Regions from separate parts of the Homo sapiens genome. Here region 1 is linked to region 2. The links are contacts of gene promoters, found by promoter capture Hi-C in blood cells and fetal thymus (Javierre and others, 2016). All regions are on one chromosome and are shown on one strand. Each heading gives the region's core, a stretch centred on a gene start or on the middle of the fragment in contact. The rest is flanking DNA. Distances are from core to core; before and after follow the strand shown. Region 1 holds the start of CLSPN-AS1 (CLSPN antisense RNA 1). Region 2 holds the start of PSMB2 (proteasome 20S subunit beta 2).

Region 1 (6,472 bases), core at 3,100-5,599, 98 kb before region 2:
AAATTAGCTGAACATGGTGGCTTGTATCTCTAGTCCCAGCTACTCAGGAGGCTGATGTGGGAGGATCACTTGAGCCCTGGAGGTGGAGGTTACAGTGAGCTGAGATGGTGCCACTGTATTCCAGGTGGTGTAAGAGACCAAGACTGTCTCAGAGAAAAAAAAAAAATTAACACACACAAAATTTTTTTTAATTCATAACTTGGCTGACTACTTGTAGTTTGCTTTCAACAACTTATTTATTGATTCATTGATTTACATTTTAGGGAAGAGGAAGACGAGGAGGAGGAATTTGGAGACTTTCGGCTTGTTTCAAATGATAATGAGTTTGATAGTGATGAGGTGAGTATGAAGGGAACAAAGTAATCATAACTGAGCTCCATGTATTGCTGCCCTCAAGTGTTTTTTTCCCCTCAGTTCTTGAGAATTCTAAGTTTGGCATCTTATCAGAAACAATTTCCTAGAATGAGGTATTTGGGCAGATGTTTATAAATCCTTTTTTCATTGAGGACGCATTTTATTCTGCTTAATTTGGATATGATGCTGATTTTGTAGGATGAACACAGTGACTCTGGTAATGATCTGGCACTGGAAGACCATGAAGATGATGATGAAGAAGAACTCCTGAAGCGATCTGAGAAGTTGAAAAGGCAAATGTACGTGTTATTAATATGTCCATTCCTTCAGGTGTATTTAAAATTTGGTCACTAGGCCAGGCATGGTGGCTTGCGCCTGTAATCCCATCATTTTGGGAGGCTGAAGCAGGCGGATCACCTGAGGTCAGGAGTTCAAGACCAGCCTGGTCTTGGTGACACAGGTCAAGAGATCGAGACCATCCTGACAAACATGGTGAAACCCTGTCTCTACTAAAAAATATAAAAATTAGCCAGATGTGATGACAGGTGCCTGTAGTCCCAGCTACTCAGGAAGCTGAGGCAGGGAGAATCGCTTGCACCCAGGAGGTGGAGGTTGCAGTGAGCCGAGATCGCACCACTGCATTTCAGCCTGGGTGACAGAGCGAGACTCTGTCTCAAAAAAAAAAAAAAAAAAAAAGTTGATCACTTAATATGTCCTGTGTGCTAATAACTGTGCTTTACAGGCATTAACATATTATCTTATGCCAGGCACAGTGGCTCACGCCTGTAATCCCAGCACTTTGGGAGGCCAAGGCAGGCATATTACTTGAGGTCAGGAGTTTGAGACCAGCGTGACCAACATGGTGAAACCCTCTCTACTAAAAATACAAAATACAAAATAAAATACAAAAATTAGCCAGGCATGGTTCTGGGCGCCTGTAGTGCCAGCTACTTGGGAGGCTGAGGCAGGAGAATTGCTTGAATATGGGAGGCGGAGGTTGCAGTGAGCCAAGATTGCCCCACTGCACTCCAGCCTGGGTGATAGAGCAAGACTCCATCTCAAAAAAATTATCTTATGAGTGGGTACTATTATTCTCCTCATTTTACAGTTGAAGGAACTGAGCCTCAGAAAGATTAAATTTACCCAAGATCACATAGCTAGAAGGCAGCAGAGGCTGGATTCAACTTAGATTAGGTGAAATCTCCCCTAACAGTCAGTTAATAGTTTGCCACTTTTTAACTTAAATCCTCCTGCCTCAGCTTCCCAAGTAGCTGGGACAACAGGCATGTGCCACCACACCTGGCTAATTCTTTCTATTTTTTGTAGAGATGGGGCCTTGCTTTGTTCCCAGGCTGGTCTTAAACTGTTGGCCTCAAGTGATCCTCCTGCCTCTGCTTCCCAAAGTCTGGGATTACAGGCATGAGCCACCAGGCCCAGCTTTTTTTTTTTTTTTTTTTTTTTTTTTTGAGACGGAGTCTCGCTCTGTCGCCCAGGCTGGAGGGCAGTGGCATGATCTCGGCTCACTGCAACCTCCGCCTCCCGGGTTCAAAGCGATTCTCCTGCTTCAGCCTCCTGAGTAGCTGGGAATATAGGCACGTGCCACCACACCCAGCTAATTTTTGTATATTTAGTAGAGACGGGGTTTCACCATGTTGGTCAGGATGGTCTCGATCTCTTGACCTCACGATCCACCCGCCTTGGCCTTCCAACATGCTGGGATTACAGGCGTGAGCCACCCCACCTGGCCGGCCCAACTCATTTTTTTGATATGCTGTTCTGGTCATGAAAGTAAAATATTTATTTTAGGATATTTAAAAGAATACAAACTGGGTGCAGTGGCCCACGCCTATAATCTCAGCACTTTGGGAAGCTGAGGCGGGTGGATCACCTGAGGTCAGGAGTTCGAGACCAGCCTGGCCAACATGGCGAGACCCCGTCTCTACTAAAAATACAAAATTAGCCAAGCGTGATGGCCAGTGCCTGTAATCCCAGCTACTCAGGAGGCAAAGCTGGAGAATCGCTTGAACCGGGAGGTGGAGGGTGCAGTGAGCTGAGATTGTGCCATTGCATTCCAGCCTGGGCGACGAGAGAAACTCCATTCTCCCCGACCCCCGCAAAAAAAGAATACAGAAAGATATAAATAAAAACTTATCCATGTCCACCATCCAGGATATAAATGAAAGTTAGTTTGTTCCCCTTAATCTTTTTTATGCATATATTTTTATATAGTTGAGATTTGTACAATCTTTCTATATGTATAATTTTGCATCTTTTTTTTTCTACTTAGCATATCCAGAAACATTTTCCTATGATGTTAAAAAAAGTTTTATAAAGATAATTCTAATAGGTATTTAATATTATATTGTATGTGAATGATTTGGAATTCACATATAGGACATCATATTGATCCCTATTAGATTTATATGGTTGCTTTTATCCCATCATTTCATTCTATTAAGATTCACTTTGGGTTCTAATTTATCACCTATCAAATTAACTCTCATACAGCTTTAGGTTATCCATAGATTTTTCTAAGGTAGTGGTTCTTCTCTGCAGAGCTCTTTGTTCAAATAAAATCTTTTAAAGAATGACAGATAAAAGTTGAACTGTTCAAAGATGGTAAGTGGGAAGTTTGGGAAACTTAGTGACTAGTGGCCTCTGAAGGAATTTTCCAGGAACTCTAGGATTTAGAACAACTTAGCTTTAAGAAAATACAGTATAGGCTGGGCGTGGTGGCTCATGCCTGTAATCCCAGCACTTTGGGAGGCTGAGATGGACAGATCCCCTGAGGTCAGGAGTTCAAGACCACCCTGGCCAACATGGTGAAACCCTATCTCTACTAAAAAAACAAAAATTAGCCAGGCATGGTGGCACGCACCTGTAATCCCAGCTACTCGGGAGGTTGAGGCATGAGAATCACTTGAACCCAGGAGGTGGAGGTTGCAGTGAGCCGAGATGGCATCTCTGCACTCCAGCCTAGGCGACAGAGCGACACTTCATCTCAAAAAAAAAAAAAAAGAGAAAATACAGTATAGGTCTTCGATAAAAATCAGTTTTCAGAAAGCCACCAAACTTCTGCCATTTTGGACCACATGGGACCAAGGTGACTTTGAATCCAGGGTGACACCAGATTTATTCTCCGGGGGAGCTGAAGTCATAAGAAGTAACTAGTCGTTTTGATTACCAGGAGCTCTGAGCCTTAGTCTTCCTTCTGATGTGGGGGTCAAGATTTGTTAGGCTGTAAGAAGATCCCAGTTTATTACCTTTCTACACCACACCATCTCTAGTTTGTCTCTTAAAGCTGGTGTGCTCAAATGCAAAATGAAATAGTTTGAACCTTCCAGCAGGTATTCTAATACATGTAAAAGAGATTAAGAGTTTTCTGGCTTTCAAATCACCCAATCTAAGTTGAATCCAGGCTCTGCTACCTTCTAGCTATGTGACCTTGGGTAAATGTAATCTTTCTGAGGCTCAATTCCCTCAACTGTAAAATGAAGAGAATAATAGTACCCATTCCTATGATAATATGTTAATGCCTGTAAAGCACAGTTATTAGCACACAAGACATATTAAGTGATCAACTTTTAAATACAGATGCTCCACATCTTACAATGGGACTATATCCTGATCAATCCATCATAAGTTGAAAATGCACTTTCATATTATCCAGATATAACTCCATCGTAAATCGAGAAGCATACTAAGTGCGTATCACATTCATGTCATCGTAAAGTTGAAAAATCATTAAGTCAAACCATCATAAGTGGAGACTATTACAAAAAAATTTAAATATTATCAAATGTATTATGTTTATTATTATTAGAAGTGACTCTGTTCTGCTTTTCTTTGCTTCCATATTCTGTGAGTATATTCATTGTTGCATTTTCTAATCCTCAAAATTGCTTTCTAGGAGGTTGAGGAAATACCTGGAGGATGAGGCAGAGGTGTCAGGAAGTGATGTGGGAAGCGAAGATGAGTATGATGGGGAAGAAATTGATGAATATGAAGAGGACGTAATTGATGAAGTACTTCCTTCTGATGAGGAACTGCAGAGTCAAATCAAGAAAATACACATGTCAGTATCCCAATAAGCCCTTCTGAGTAATAGGGTACATCTTAAGACAAGCCCTGTAACCAGCCAGAATGGTCCTTGTTTTGAACACCTTATTTCTCCTGTTGCAGGAAAACTATGTTGGATGATGATAAGCGACAGCTACGTTTATACCAAGAGAGGTACCTTGCTGATGGGGATCTGCACAGCGATGGTCCTGGGCGAATGAGGAAGTTTCGATGGAAAAACATAGGTATCTTGGTTGTTGTCTTTAAAAGCAATCAGTTACGGGCTGAGCATGGTGGCTCACGCCTGTAATCCCAACACTTTGGGAGGCAGAGGCAGGTGGATCACAAGGTCAGGAGTTCAGGACCAGCCTGAACAACATGGTGAAACCCCGTCCCTACTAAAAGTTCAAAAATTAGCAGGCTGTGATGGCACGCGCCTGTAATCCCAGCTACTCAGGAGGCTGAGGCAGGAGAATTGCGTGAACCCGGGAGACGGAGGTTGCAGTGAGCAGAGATCATGCCATTGCACTCCAGCCTGGGCGACAGAGCGAGACTCCATCTCAAAAAAAAAAAAAAAAAAGCAAACAGTTACAATGCATATTTGTCGAGTTTCAGATGGCAAATGGCAAGCAAAACTATAACAGGCTATGTGAAGACCTAGTTGTAACTGTTTTCTGTTAATGGATGGGAAAAGTTTACATCATTATATAGTAAATGATAAGGGTTTATTTTTTGTCTGTCCAAGCACCCTCTCCTGTGAGGACTGCCGAATGCTGATTACCTTCACTCTTTGTTTAGATGATGCTTCCCAGATGGACTTGTTCCACAGAGACTCTGATGATGATCAGACTGAAGAACAGCTTGATGAGTCAGAAGCCAGGTGGAGGAAGGAGCGAATTGAACGAGAGCAGTGGCTTCGGGACATGGTAGGAGTTCACCTACTCTGACCCTAGTTTATGAGACTGTCCCTTAGCTTGTCATGATAGTTTCAAAATCTTAGCTTGTCATGATAGTTTCAAAATCTTAGGCAACATATTGCTATCTCTTTTAATCCTTGAGCTATCTTTTGTGTTTTGAGAAGGCTATACCATAGACAGTTCTCTTCATGTTTGTCTAAGATTAATTTTTTTTTGTCTAAAGCAGCAAAGGCTGCAAAAAGGAAAACAAATACCCCAGGAACTCTAGTTTCACAATCCAGGCCATGCTAACTATTTAGGAAGGTTATAGACTTTTAATGCTGTATATATATATATATATATATATATATTTTTTTTTTTTTTCAGGCACAGCAGGGGAAAATTACAGCTGAAGAAGAAGAAGAAATTGGGGAGGACAGTCAGTTTATGATACTGGCCAAGAAAGTTACAGCCAAAGCACTGCAGAAGAATGGTGAGCTCTTGTTTCTCCTTAGGGTCTAGCCCCCTGGATTGTTAGTGGTAGAGCTTTGGAGGTGACTCTAACCTTCAGGAGCTGTTGCAGCTTAATCATAAGCTTGTGTCTAATACTGTCTTAAAGAGGCTTCACAGAGGTGGTGGGAGACAGTGTACTTAGATCTTAGACTATTGGGCAGTAGAGACTGTATTCATGAGTATATGTGGCTGGTTTTACTTTATGTTCTAAGGCTCAGAGTAGTTAATTCTGGCTTTCTCTAGTTGCCCAGGATTGTATACCTAAGTGTTAGAGGTAGGATTTGAATCCAGGAATATTTAACTCCAGAAATGAAGCTCTTCACTATTCCCTACACTGACCACTTCTGTTTTTCTTAAATGATTACTGTTCAACTTAGTTGTGTCTCTTCTTGGAGCCAATTATTATAGTTTGAAAGTCACCATTATATAGAACAGAGTTCCCATGGCTTTAGCATATTGATTTAGTTACAAGATTTCTTAGCTTGTTTAGATTTAAAAGTAATTCTAATCAGCTTTTCCCAGAATAGGCCTCTCTGTCTTTTCTTTCCAGCCAGTCGCCCTATGGTTATTCAGGAATCAAAGTCTTTGCTCAGAAATCCTTTTGAAGCCATCAGACCAGGAAGTGCTCAACAGGTTGGTTGGGAACCTTG
Region 2 (6,695 bases), core at 217-2,716:
GAACCTTACCCCCAATTTATACTTTCTCATTGTTTCTTATTTCCCATTTTCCTAATTACCATCAAGGTTGAGGATCTTTTCATGTTTATTGGCCATTCGTGTTGCTTCTTTTGTGAATTGTTTTTCTTAGTCTTTGGTCTTTTTTTATTTTTTATTTTTTTTTTTGAGATGGAGTCTCTCTGTTGCACAGGCTGGAGTGGAGGGGCGCTATCTCGGCTCACTGCAATCTCCGCCTCCTAGGTTCAAGCAATTCTCCTGCTTCAGCCTCCGGAGTAGTACAGGCGCCTGCCACCACGCCCAACTAATTTTTTGTATTTTTAGTAGGGACGGGGTTTCACCATATTGGCCAGGCTGTTCTCGAACTCCCGACCTCTTGATCCGCCCCCGTGCCCTGCCGGGTCTTTTAAAAATGGTATTGTCTCACCCGGCTCCCCTCCCATTGGTTTGTAGGAATATCTTTTAAGTTATAGATATTAACTTTTTCCTTTCTTCTGTCTATAAGGTCCAAAATAGTAACTATTTCTACAATTGAAACATTCCCAATTTACATTTACTGTTGAGCATGATAATGACTTTCACCACATAGAGACGTGTAATTTTAGGTAGTCAAATCTGTCAAGTCTTTTCTCATATTGCTTCTGGGTTCCCTGTCAAGCTTAGAAACACATCTCTTCCAAAAATTACAGAAATATTTTTCTACTTTTTCTTCCATGTTTGTATCTCTCTCCCTCTCTTTTTTTTTTTTTTTTTTTTTTTTTTTTTTTTTTTTTTTTTTTTGAGACGGAGTTTCGCTTTTGTTGCCCAGGCTGGAGTGCTCACCGCAACCTCCGCCTCCAGGGATCAAGCGATTCTCTGTCTCAGCCTCCAGAGTAGCTGGGATTACAGGCATGCGCCACCACGCCCAGCTAATTTTGTATTTTTAGTAGAGACGGGGTTTCTCCATATTGGTCAGGCTGGTCTCGAACTCCCAAGCTCAGGTGATCCGCCTGCCTTGGCCTCCCAAAGTGCTGGGATTACAGGCGTGAGCCACTGCGCCCGGCCATGCTTATATCTTTAATCCAACCATATACTATTTTTGTGAAGGATGGAAGTAAGGCTCCCCTCAAGTTAATTTTTCTCCAATCTGGCTTGCAGGAAAGGGGTTTCTGGGGAGATTTTACCGAGCAACGTAGGGAAACGGCTGCCTGGCTACCTACCCCTTTTTGACACCCACACGTGCTCGGCACCTTACATACACTGCGTGATTTTATCCTAAAGCCACTTTTAAAATCTTAGTGTGTAAACAGAGAAACTGGGCGTCACATAAGGCAAGTGACCTGCACAGCCTGCTCCGGAGGAGACCCGTACGATCCCAGAGACAAGCACTGAACATAAGGCACCCGGCGCCGCGCCCGCTTTGCAACCTCTCGCGACAGTTGTACGTCATCCGAGAGCGCCGTGGAAGTCGTGCTGCAGGCGTCGCGCCAATCTTCGCTCTGAGGTGCTGTCTCACCGGTGAGACCTGGAAGCGGGCGAGTCTCGTGCTGTGTCGGACCTGCAGCCCCTGGCCTTCCGCCACCATGGAGTACCTCATCGGTATCCAAGGCCCCGACTATGTTCTTGTCGCCTCCGACCGGGTGGCCGCCAGCAATATTGTCCAGATGAAGGACGGTGAGAGGAAGCAGGGGAGGCCCGGCCAGGCCTGGGGTGTAGGAGCGGCCAGAAGGAGTTTGTCGGGGGTTGAATAAGTACCAGGGAGGATCTGAGAGATGGAAGCCGGCCTGCCCTGCCCGTACTTATTTTATTTATTTATTTATTTTTTCGAGAGGGGTTTCGCTCTTGTTGTCCAGGCCGGAGTGCAATGGCGCGATCTCGGCTTAGCACAGTCTTTGTCTCCCGGGTTCAAGCGATTCTCGTGCCTCAGCCTCCCGAGTAGCTGGGAACAGATATGCGCCACCACGCCTGGCTAATTTTTGTATTATTAGTAGAGATGTGGATTTCTCCATATTGGTCAGGCTGGTCTCGAACTCCCGACCTCAGGAGATCCGCCCGTCTCGGCCTTCCAAAGTGCTGGGATTACAGGCGAAACAGGCAGACAGGTCTGGGACCTTGGCATTTGCTCCTCCAGGGCTCCTGGGTCAGTGCTCTGCTCTGGCCTTCGCTAAATGCTTCTTGCTTGGTGAGAGTTGCCTAAAGGGAATCAGTTTATAAATGTTTAAGCGCCTGCCCAGAGCCTGGCTCTCTAGATCCCCGAATCTCTGATAAGTTTCCTGGTGTCGCTAGTAATGAGGTTAGTTTGTTGGCGGCATAAGGTGGGATCCTGAGGAGAGTGAGACTGTGGGACTGGCTCTCTAGATCCCCGAATCTCTGATAAGTTTCCTGGTGTCGCTAGTAATGAGGTTAGTTTGTTGGCGGCATAAGGTGGGATCCTGGGGAGAGTGAGACTGTGGGACCAGAAGCTTGGCATTTTCCTTCTTCCCGTGGCTCCCGATTCTTCTTTTCCAGTTTTCCAGAGCAATGGCTGCCAGGTTTTCCTTATATTTAAGTAGTTAATGGAGTTAAGAGATTGGAGCCCTGTCATTTATTTGCCTTATGAGTTTGTATAAGTTATTTTGCAGTGCCCAGATTTCCTCATCTTTAAGATTAGCAATACCAAACTCACAAACTTGTCGGGAGGATTTAGTAAATGAGTTATGTGCAAATCCTTAGCACTAGGCAGGTACTTAATAATACTAAGTGTACGTAGGTGCCCAAACATATTTGTCAAATGACCATTAAGTCATCTGAACCAAAGCTTAATACTTTTTCAACAGTAGCACGTCTTTGATCAGTTAAGGAAAACAAACTTAGATTCTGCAGAAAAACAACCAAAATCTTCTTAAAATTATGTATTGAGTAATTTAGTATAGATAGTATAGTATAGTATAGTATAGTATAGTATAGTATAGTATATTATAGTACTTAGGGGCAAAATGTCTGGACTCACTGCATAGGTTGAACCCAGGTTCTGCCACTTGTGACCTTAAGCAAATTTCTCTAACTCCGTGCCCTAGAGCTAACATCTATAAGGTGGTAATGTAATAGCACCTATCTCAAAAGGTTAATGAATTAATGTAAATCACTTAACATAGCACCTTATACTTTATGAAATTCTATGATTAGTTTGTAGAAGTTTTGTTTGTAAGCCAGTCCTTCCAAAGGAGTGAATTTGTTTTGAGAGTAAATTTGTCCATTATTTTGAATACTAAGGTCTTTGACAAGCAAGTGATTTTAACATTAAGTCATGTCTAGGTAGAACAATAATCATTATCTTTACAGGTCTTTTGTTTCATCCCAAATGTATGTGAAATCACATTGAAAAGTAGAATGTGCTTTAAGCCTACTTATGTACACAGTACTTTTAGTCATTATAGGGGATGCAGTATATTACTTATAACCCATAGAAGAGTCCAAGACATTAAGAAAACAAGGAAATAAATGCTGCAAGATGATTTTATATAATAAAAGAAGTATTACTAGTTAGTAGTAGGTTGGTTTTTAAATTAATGAGTTCAAGAGCAAATCCTAAGAGTAATAAAAGAAAGATAACTATGGTATGGGAGAAAGATGAATTTGAGTTAGTTCTTGAAAAATAATTGGAAATAGTTGCACTCTGCACATTCCAATTTTCCCTATAGTCTTTTCTGGTATAAAACAAATTATAATAGAAATTTTAGTATTGTATGATGACTTTTTTATTTATTTTATTTATTTATTTTTGAGACAGAGTCTCGCTCTGTCACCCAGGCTGGAGTGCAATGGCGCGATCTCGGCTCACTGCAACCTCCACCTCCTGGGTTCAAGCGATTCTCCTGCCTCGGCCTTCCAAGTAGCTGGGATTACAGGCGCCCGTCACCATGCCCAGCTAATTTTTGTATTTTTAGTAGAAACGGGGTTTCACCAGTTTGGCCAGGCTGGTCTCAAACTCCTGACCTCAGGTGATCCACCTGCCTCCGCCTCCCAAAGTGCTGGGATTACAGGCGTGAGCCACCGTGCCCAGCCGTCTGATGACTTTTTTCTAATCATTCATTTCACGATGGAGCTTGTTTAGAGTAGGCAAGAATGCTGAAAAAATAGTAACCTTCTGGGACTCCTTTCTCCAAGTATAAAATGATAATACAACTTCCAATCAATTGTCCAGTATGTCACTTTGTAAAAACATTTTGATACTATAGAGTAGACATTTGCTGAGGATTGCCACCTTATTAAGTGGTATAACTTTTGGTTTGCTTATATGCCGCATTTCATGTCTCTTTTCTCTTGGCCTATGTAGAATTGCTTTTAAGTTACTCGGAGTACTCCAGCCCACACAGAATTCTCTCTTTTCTGAATTCCTATAGCATGTATAATCCGAACTACATTATCTAACACTGAGTATCATAATATTGGACATGTATAGAATTCATTAGTTTTTCTCACTTGTGAGTTAGACAGGGGTAAGTCATATTATTAACATTTCACACATTTGGAAATAACATTTCACACATCTGGAAACTGGGGCTTAGAGAGGACAAGTAATTTGCCGAAGTTCAGAGTGCCAAGTCCACATCATAACCAAGGTCTCTTGGATTCTAGTTCAGTTGGTTTTCCACAGTATGACATGCTAATGTTGTTCATTTTGTTGGCCATTTGTTTCATGTATGTGGATCTCGTAAGTTCCTCGTCAAGAATCAGAAATTCCCCAGAGCTACACAGGCAGTTTCCTGTACAACTCAGGGGTCTCTAAGTATCTATCTCTTGTGTTTTTATTAAATATGTTGCCCTCTGCTACTCATTGGACATATTCAGTGTTTAAAAAACATTTTTGGCCTTGTATTAAGCTAATTTTAAAGTTGAACAGGTTACTGCCTAGGATTTTAGCCTTTCTTCTAAGTGTGACATAAGTTCTTTGTAAACAAGCTCCCCCTTCAAATAAAAATATCTTTTTTCTTATTATAAAAATAATGCGAACTTATTGAATAATGCTTTCTTATAAAAGTGAGGCATGTTAAGTATAGAAGTTTTAGGAAAAACCAACAAGCAAAAGAAGGAAACGAAAACTGCCCATACTCTTACCACTGGCAAGCACTTAGAATATACCCTTCTGCTCCTTTTTCTTTGCATAGATAATATAAGTGAATGTTTTTCGTTTATTAACAAGTTTGCAAACTAACAATCTTTAAATCTAGCCTGCATAACAAATAAAAGTGTGTTTGTTTAGGAGTTTTGAGGCAATTTGATATTATCTACAGGTGCATTTTGTGTGTTTTTTCCCTCCAAGTCTAAGAAGCCATATTACTGGTATCTACAACTCTGAAACACTTGTAAAGTATTTGACAGTAGCATTTTGTTCTTTAAATCCTATTAAAGGATTTTGGCATTTCAGAAGCTTTCAAACAGGAAACGTGTCTCCCAGGGAGGATTATTCAGCACTATTTGAAAAATGAAAAGTGAAAGTGAAAGTGAGATAGGAAGATTTAGGCCTTTTCTGAAGCTGCAGACTGAATGTGGAGTTTTCTTCCTTAGGCAATAACTGTAACCTGAATATTTATTTATCTGTCTAATCTGAATGACTCTGGTTCAGCTAGATAAGATTAGAGTATTAGGATTTTTGTGAGGTATTTTAAATAGCTTACTGTCAAAATATTCACTAGAATTTTTGCTTTGGCAATCATTTTAATTTTCTCTTTTTCTTTGGAAGTGGAATTTGTTTACTTTTTAAAGTGATTAATATTCTCAGTTGATTTTCTATTCTTTCTTGAAATGGTTCCTTAATTTTAATTATAGCACCAGTCCTTTTCATATATGCTTTTGTATGTGTATAAATATAATAACTAACATTTGTAGTTGTGGAAACATTTTAGGGCTTTGTTATCATGAGCCTAAAGATAATCGCCATTGGCTGGATTCCTTCAGTTTCTTCTGTCGTTCTGTTCCTTGCATTTCAAATGCCTTTAAATGCTTTAAATTGTATTTTCAATTGGTAGCTTTCATGTATATTCTCCAACCGAAATTGGCATTACACAATATGCTGATGGTTTAACATGAAGAGTGAAAGAGAAAAATTGATACCATTACCTATTAAAATCTTCTAAAAGCAATAATTAGTTAAATTATTCAATATACAGTCGTCCCTTGGTATCTGTAGGGATTGGTTCCAGAACCCCTGCAGATACCCAAATCCATAGATGCTTAAAGTCCATTATATACATGGTATAGTATTTGCATATTACCTATGCAGGTACTCCTGTGTACTTCAAATCATCTCTAGATTATTTATAATACTTAATATGACATAAGTGCTATGTAAATAGTTGTTATACCATATTGTTTAGGGAATAATGACCAGAAAAAAAGTCAGTACATGTTCAGGATAGATGCAAGCATCCATTTTTTTTTTTTTCTGAATAATTTTGATCCATAGTTTGTTGAATTGTGGATTCAGAATCCATGTATATGGAAGGCCAACTGTAGTAATTAATAAACCTGTTTATGGTTACATAAATAATGACGGTCAATGTCTGTTAAGGCAGTTTCTAACACAGTTTTCTTCTTTGAGCAGATCATGACAAGATGTTTAAGATGAGTGAAAAGATATTACTCCTGTGTGTTGGAGAGGCTGGAGACACTGTACAGTTTGCAGAATATATTCAGAAAAACGTGCAACTTTATAAGATGCGAAATGGTGGGTAAGACTT

The links. Contacts are between HindIII fragments. The CHiCAGO score rates a contact against its expected background, and 5 or more counts as called.
Region 1: the fragment with the promoter of CLSPN-AS1 here is called in contact with the fragment with the promoter of PSMB2 in region 2 in 2 of 17 cell types (M1 macrophages and erythroblasts); the score reaches 6.7 in M1 macrophages.

The regions. Positions count from the first base shown.
Region 1 is chr1:35,737,322-35,743,793 of GRCh38, reverse strand. CLSPN-AS1 (CLSPN antisense RNA 1) reads right to left here and starts at 4,349. Exons shown (of 2, transcript NR_199043.1): 1 at 4,281-4,349; 2 at 218-631. CLSPN (claspin) reads left to right here. Exons shown (of 25, transcript NM_022111.4): 17 at 264-339; 18 at 553-653; 19 at 4,265-4,429; 20 at 4,537-4,658; 21 at 5,212-5,339; 22 at 5,697-5,802; 23 at 6,373-6,455. RefSeq lists enhancers at 4,056-5,255, 4,999-5,500. The HindIII fragment of the contact is 7,776 bases long and covers 1-5,906 here.
Region 2 is chr1:35,636,297-35,642,991 of GRCh38, reverse strand. It overlaps PSMB2 (proteasome 20S subunit beta 2), which reads left to right and starts at 1,466. Exons shown (of 6, transcript NM_002794.5): 1 at 1,466-1,650; 2 at 6,560-6,682. The coding sequence starts at 1,560. RefSeq lists enhancers at 561-1,525, 1,278-1,737, 1,526-2,491. The HindIII fragment of the contact is 1,783 bases long and covers 658-2,440 here.